Linked DNA regions of Homo sapiens: region 1 is linked to region 2. Evidence: promoter capture Hi-C in 16 types of primary human blood cells and fetal thymus (Javierre and others, 2016). All regions are on one chromosome and are shown on one strand. Each heading gives the region's core, a stretch centred on a gene start or on the middle of the fragment in contact. The rest is flanking DNA. Distances are from core to core; before and after follow the strand shown.

Region 1 (3,652 bases), core at 972-3,471, 790 kb after region 2:
TGACTTGTATTAAGGAACTACTAATGTAATGTAGTTTCTCACTTCTCCTAAATATTTACTTCCTACGTGTAATAAATTTTATTATTTCTTTATACTCTATTTACAAATACTTCCATAATATGTACGTTTTGCTTAGATAAAAATGAAATACTCTTAACAAATTGCTTACTCTAATATTGAAGAAATCTTAACTGTCTAGACAGAGAAACTTCCTGCATAACAAATTTAAATACAGGTTATTTTTCTCGCCTAACACTTAAAGGGTATATGGTATAAAGTTGTTGCCTCTATTCCAGCCCTGGAGTGGCCTCCCGCTACATAAAGTCTCTTCCAGCCTCTCAATGACCCTTGAATTTATTTTTTTTCTTTTGAGGTGGAGTCTCACTCTGTTGCCCAGGCTTGAGTGTAGTGGAGTAATCTCGGCTCACTGTAACCTCTGCCTCCTGGGTTCAAGCAATTCTCCTGCCTCAGCCTCCTGAGTAGCTGGGACTACAGGCGCGCAACACCACGCCCAGCTAATTTTTGTATTTTTTAGTAGAGACGGGGTTTCACCATATTGGACAGGCTGGTCTCAAACTCCTGACCTCGTGATCCGCCCACCTGGGCCTCCCAAAGTGCTGGGATTACAGGCAGGAGCCACCATGCCTGGCCAACCCTTGAATATTTTACCACATAAATGACAGCTGAGGGCAACTACTTTTGAGAAAAGGACACCAGGTCAGACATAAAGGCTCAAAGGGAAAAGGGGCAGACCCAGAACCCAGGAGGGAGGTGCTCTGGGAGGGACACTTGAAAGCTTAGGAAAAGGGTCTTCTGTGTTGACAAGTCTGGTTTTGTCCTGGTTGGTGGGAAACTGGGATGGTTTTACCTATATTAAAAGTGAAAACTGGCAAACATTAAATGACTTTGAAAAAGTCCCTTTCATTTTATTCCTAATTTCCCATTAAATCACACATTTTCCTCATATTTCCCTTAATACAAATTTAAAATTATTGTCTCCAGTTAAATAACTTAACACAGTGCCTGATACAGACTATGGAAGAAAAAAGGAGAGAAAAATGTCTTGGTGACATTAATAACTGTCCTATTGAGGTAGACAAGGTGCCATCGATGGTTTTTGAAATGTATAGAGCAATAGCTTAGGAGAAACTGAACACTGCTAGAGGAAATTAAAAAGCTTAATAAATTACTAATCTCTTACGCTAATAATTTAATGCATAATACAAAATCGAAAGCTATTATGGAGTAAAATAAATAAACTACGTTTTATAAAAATGCTCCTCCTTTCTCTGTGGACTTTGTTTATTTCCAGGTGGGGGTTATGCTTCAGGTGGCGGAGGCAGCCTGAGGTCCAACATTAATAAAGGGAGCACATCTGCAACTTCATGTATACTTTTTCATTTTAAAATATAAGAATAGGAGAAAATTATAAAAGAACAATGTACCAACAAGTTTTGGCTAATTAGAAGGATTCTTTCATAACCAGTAGTTTTCAAACTATGTCCCACAGAAATCTAAGGTTCTACAGAGGATATTGCAGGATTAAGGGATAAGGAAGTCACAGCTTCAGAGCCCCTACCTGTCCTTTAGCCAGAGAGCTCTACTTCTATCTGTTTTATGTAATATAGTTTCATGCCATTTTTTAAAAGTTCTATTCTTTCAAAAAAATTTTTTTAATGTATGAAAGTCACTTGACCTGACAGAATGGTTCTTTTTAATCTCTTTTGTTAAATCTAACATGGTTTGGCAAACCAGTGCCCCACAAAGAAACCATGTATACCAATGGAATATTTTTCAGCTTATCTAGAAATACTAAAAATAAACACCTCCTTGCTCCCCAAAAAAATCAATTAAGGAAAAACATTTCCTCAAAAATCTTCCCTTACATTGCGTATCTACATATTCTTTCATCATCTTATAAAATGTTGTTACCTGAGTTTTCTGGTAGGAACTAATGAGAAAATTTTATATTTGCATCATGCTTAGTAAGTTACAGAAGGTTTTTTGTTATTGTTTTGGATTTTTTGAGACAGGGTCTCACTCTGTCATCCAGGCTGGAGTGCAGAAGCACGATCATAGCTCACTGTAGCCTTGAGCTCCTGAGCTCAAGTGATTCTCCTGCCTCAGCCTCCCAAGAAGCTGGGACTACAAGCGTGCACCACCATGCCCAGCTAATTTTTTTTAATTTTTTGTAGAAATGAGATCTCACTATGCCTCACTATGTTTCCCAGCCTGGTCTTGAACTCCTGAGCTCAGGTGATCTTCCTGCTTCGGCCTCCCAAAGTGTTGGGATTATAGGCATGAACCATTGCACCCGGCCTACACAAGTATTTGACATTCATTTTCTTTTTGTACCCAGTAGGAAAATTTCATGACTCTGAAGCATTTAGACCCTGATCATCTCATTGTCAGAAAAATAAGACAAAACTAAGCTAACAAAATGATGAAAAAAATTAGCTGGATAGATCTTATAATTTATGTATTAAAACAATCATTTGATTTGTTCCTTGTTAAGCCACTTGGCTGCAGTGCTGTCTAAGAAACCTTAGACTTGGTCTTCTATGATTTGTTAGGACATGAGGCCTGGTAAAGAAACAAGGTTGAGGTCTCATTTAACATGAGTCTACACTTTTTTTCTCTGCATTAAGATCATGAAAATACCATTAAATCTTAAGCTAACGTGCACTGATTAAAATGGATATTTTCATAATGATACACAACAAAAACTAGTTGCTATTTATTTATTTTTGTTCAAACAAATGTTTTATGCTTCTTGTAATTTTTTAAGAGACAGGGTCTTGCTATGCTGCCCAGGCTGGAGTGCGGCTGCTATTCACAGTTGCAGTAAAAACACATTACAACCTTAAACTCTTGGGCTCAAGCAATCCTCCTGCCCCAGCCTCCCAAGTAGCTGGGATTACAAGTGTTCACCATTGCAACCAGCTTTTGTAATTTGTTCCCCCAGTCAAAAATGGTCAAAAGTTAGACAAGTATCTTAAACTGGATCAAGCATAGTTGATTTTTTTTTTCCCTACCAAGTCTACAATTGATAAAACTTGTCATTGTTGAATTCATCTTGAGATCCCCAGAAATGAAGTCGTACTATGAGTGAAATCGTAAGGCTGGATTGCAAGGTTCCTCTTCAATGGGTTTTCTATTGTTCTAGAAGAGCAAGACAAAACTAAGCTAACAATATGAACATAATATTGGCTAGCTAGGACCTTGTTACTGTAAAGCTAGGATCCAGGGGAGATGAGGACCCTGTGAAGCTTAACATGAAATTCTGGGTAGGAAGAAAATAATTGTTTGATCATACTTACTAAACACTCTTGATATCACTGCCATCTTAGACATCAATCATTCAAGTAATGGCACAAGTGCATTTTTTAAATTCACATATTTGCTTGCTTTAACTATTTAAAAACCACTGTGCAATTGCCCAGTAATAGACACATTTTACAAAAATTGAGAGAAAAATGCTGTAACAATAGCAACTAAGAATGTACTCCTAAGTAAGAAAATGACAAAACTTAAAAATACAAATTAATCAGTGTTAGAGTTTGTTTAATTCATAAGAAGTATTTATCTTGGAGTTCTTTAAGTAATAAATTTCCATATGTGGTTAAGTGTTTGGATGCCAATCATTCATTCA
Region 2 (3,492 bases), core at 205-2,704:
GAGAACGCAGCGCAAACTGTCAAAGGGCTCCCAATCCTTAGGGCGTCCTCCCTGTCTGCAATAGCTTTTTGTAGAAAGGAAATCATCAGAACGATTCTGACTTTCTCCTCCTTTCTTTATTAGAAAAAGAGAAACCGCCTCCTAATACGCCTCAGAGAGAACCAATCTCGCGCTTCCGGGTCACCCGCTACCGCGAAGATTCTCTGGGGGCGAGGGGGGGCATTGGTTTGAAGCCCCTTAAAACGAGGGCCCTGCAGGCGATGCCTTCTTTCCTACTCGGATTTGTAAAGCCGAGATTGCTTAGTTGGAAACCCTGTTCTCCCCTCCCAGGCGCACACAGATCCCCCTTACACGCAAGCAGCGGGCGCTTCCACGCCTCCGCGGGCCAAGGTCACCAAATGCCCTGATTCCATCCCCCACCCGCCATCAATCCTGCCGACTCTGGCCGCTCTGCCTCATTCTCTTCCAAGAAGTTTCCATTCGTTTTATTTTTTTTTCCCCAGCCCGAGGTCCTCAGTAGACTCCAGCGTGGATTTTAATTGCCTCAATCAGCAGTCATTCTCCCCAGCCGTCACTCAGAGCCTGGACGGTGGGTCCCGCGATCTAGCCCTTGGCTACGCAGGAACGGTGCGCCCCCGGGTACGGCGCGGTTCAGCAGGCAGGCGTCAGGTTCTACCAAGGCGCTGAAATGAGCCCATCAGCGGGTAGGAGCCCTTCCCCCGCCGTCCCCTCCCCAGGCTCGTGAACGGCGCCTGATGCCCGCCCGGGGCGCGAGCTCTCGAGGTCGCAGTGACCTCAGCACCTGCTTGGAGGAAAACGGCGCGGGAACCCCGCTTCCTTCCCCTCAGCTGGAGCCAGACCTCAAACAAAACCCCAATCGATGCACACAGAAAACTCCTCTGGGCCACGCTTCCCGCCTCGCCGAGGTCTCCCCAGTCTGCCCCTCGCTGACGCTGGCGCGCAGCGGCTGTGGCAGCACCCGGGACAGCGGCCGCCCGCACTTCCCGCCTCTGGCTCGCCCGAGGACGCGCTGGCACGCCTCCCACCCCCTCACTCTGACTCCAGCTGGCGTGCATGGTCTGCCTCGCATCCTCACGACTCAGCTCCCTCCCTCTCTCGTGTTTTTTTCCTCCGCCGCCCCCTCATTCATCCCCACTGGGCTCCCTTTCCCTCAAATGCTCTGGGGCTCTCCGCGCTTTCCTGAGTCCGGGCTCCGAGGACCCTTAGGTAGTCCCGGTCTCTTTTAAAGCTCCCCGGCTTCCAAAGGGTTGCCACGTCCCTAAACCCTGTCTCCAGCTCGCATACACACACGCACAGACACGCACGTTTTCTGTTCCTGCGTGACACCCGCCCTCGCCGCTCGGCCCCGCCGGTCCCCGCGCGGTGCCCTCCTCCCGCCACACGGGCACGCACGCGCGCGCAGGGCCAAGCCCGAGGCAGCTCGCCCGCAGCTCGCACTCGCAGGCGACCTGCTCCAGTCTCCAAAGCCGATGGCATCTCCGGGCTCTGGCTTTTGGTCTTTCGGGTCGGAAGATGGCTCTGGGGATTCCGAGAATCCCGGCACAGGTAGGAAGGAGAACGGGGGCCTGCGGCGGGCGAGTTTTGCGGTGGTCTGGGGTTTGCGGAACTACGGAGAAGACGAAGGAGGTTTTTCCACCTGCAACAGGAAACTTCTTCGGGCGCTTCTCCCTGCTTTTGGGCTAAGTCCTTGACGGCCCAAGAGCTCAAGACCTCTACAGCCTCTTGTACCCTGGGAAGACGCCCAAATAGTCTCAGGCCCGTTCCACAGAAGGTTGGAAGAGCCCCCCAAAGACCGCGGTGTCTCGGGGACATGGAATTCCGTGGTCCTGGGGCGCTGCTAAGATCCGGGTGTCTGGACCCTGGGGTGGGACGGAGTGACCGTGAAGATAGAAAAAAAAAATGGGAAAGGTGAGAGATTTCTTTATCTAGAAAGACAGTCTGCGAAAAAATGGATAGCTTCAGTGTTTAGGAAAACTCGTCCAAGGTAGGCAGGGAGAGGAATTTGCCTGAGCCGATTGGCACCTGGAAGGGCAGCGGTGTGGGCTTCTCCTCGGGAAACAGATAAAGGAAATGAGGGCTGGCCCGGGCCGCCAGCCTCCCGCTTGCCTTCTGCACCTGCCGGCCTCACCGAGTCCTGAGCGGCCCCCAGGAGGAAGGCGGCCCCTCCTAGGACCCCGGACTGATTGATTTTCACATAGAACGAAATTTCACACGTCCGTCTGTTGTTCTCTTTCTGCCTCGCTGTCTGCCTGCCTATTCTTCCTTGCAGCGCGAGCCTGGTGCCAAGTGGCTCAGAAGTTCACGGGCGGCATCGGAAACAAACTGTGCGGTGAGTGCCCAGGGACCGGGGCGGCCAAGGTCGGCCCGCGGGGTCCAAGCAGTCTTCTCACCTCCGCATCCCAGTCAGCGGAGTCGGGGTTTCCTGGCTGCGGGTAGGCGGGAGCGAGGGAGCCGGGCCCGGCGGAGGATTGACGAGGCCCGCGTTCGGTGTCCTTACCCAGCCCTGCTCTACGGAGACGCCGAGAAGCCGGCGGAGAGCGGCGGGAGCCAACCCCCGCGGGCCGCCGCCCGGAAGGCCGCCTGCGCCTGCGACCAGAAGCCCTGCAGCTGCTCCAAAGTGGATGTCAACTACGCGTTTCTCCATGCAACAGGTAAAGACTCAGCGGGGAGCCCCGGGGCGCCCCTGCCCCTCTCTCTGCCCCGCCCACCGCGGCCGGTGCGGGTCCGGCGCTGAGAGCCGGACAGGGGCGTCGAGGTGGCAGCGGAGGCGGGACCTGCCAGAATCTTCAGATAAAAGCGAGAAATGCGGGACCTGCCCGCTGGGTCCAAGCCCCCGAACCTGGCCTCGGAGCTCCAAGAGGGCTCTGAGGCCGTGGCGCTCTTCCCCCAGCGCGGCCCTTGGGATGGCGGGTGGCCGACGATCCAGGCGCTCGTGCGCTCACTGAATCGATGACGGCTGGCTTCCCTAGGCCGCTGGGGCCTCGGGTGGGACTCAGTTTCCAAATACCGTGCCCGAGAATTCAGAATTGCATTTTTTTTAGGTCTTTAGATCACGAGAGTGATTTGTAGCTGCAATTGCACAAGAGAACGATTCCATTCACATGAAACCCGCGCGCCGAGTTTTACCCCCGTGCACTTACACACCGTCTCCCAAATGTACGCGCGCACACACACATGCAGACACACATGCATACGCTCTCTCTCTCTCTCTCACACACACACACACACACACACACACACACACACACTGACTTTAGAAACAGCGGGCCTTCCTATCAGACCAGAGATCCTAATGCACCTGTTCCACTTTGGTTTGCCCGAAGGCATTCGAGACAAACACTTCTGACGTGAAATATTTATGTAAACATGTAAGATGGTTTACTGAGAAACACGTTTAAGACGAACTCCTGTGAACTAGATAAACGGAGGTACACGCTCTTCAAAAAAAGAAGGCAAACAATATAAGTTATG

What was found. Contacts are between HindIII fragments. The CHiCAGO score rates a contact against its expected background, and 5 or more counts as called.
Region 1: a contact is called between a fragment that was not itself captured here and the fragment with the promoter of GAD2 in region 2, in 1 of 17 cell types (neutrophils). The highest score is 5.2, in neutrophils.

Annotation. Positions count from the first base shown.
Region 1 is chr10:27,008,488-27,012,139 of GRCh38, forward strand. All of the region lies in intron 32 of ANKRD26 (ankyrin repeat domain containing 26), which reads right to left. Among named protein-coding and RNA genes, the nearest start is that of FAM238C, 68 kb to the left of the region's middle. The HindIII fragment of the contact is 2,092 bases long and covers 1,176-3,267 here.
Region 2 is chr10:26,215,320-26,218,811 of GRCh38, forward strand. GAD2 (glutamate decarboxylase 2) reads left to right here and starts at 1,455. Exons shown (of 16, transcript NM_001134366.2): 1 at 1,455-1,566; 2 at 2,291-2,350; 3 at 2,523-2,672. The coding sequence starts at 1,491. RefSeq lists enhancers at 1-169, 2,779-3,407. The HindIII fragment of the contact is 6,458 bases long and covers 1-3,492 here.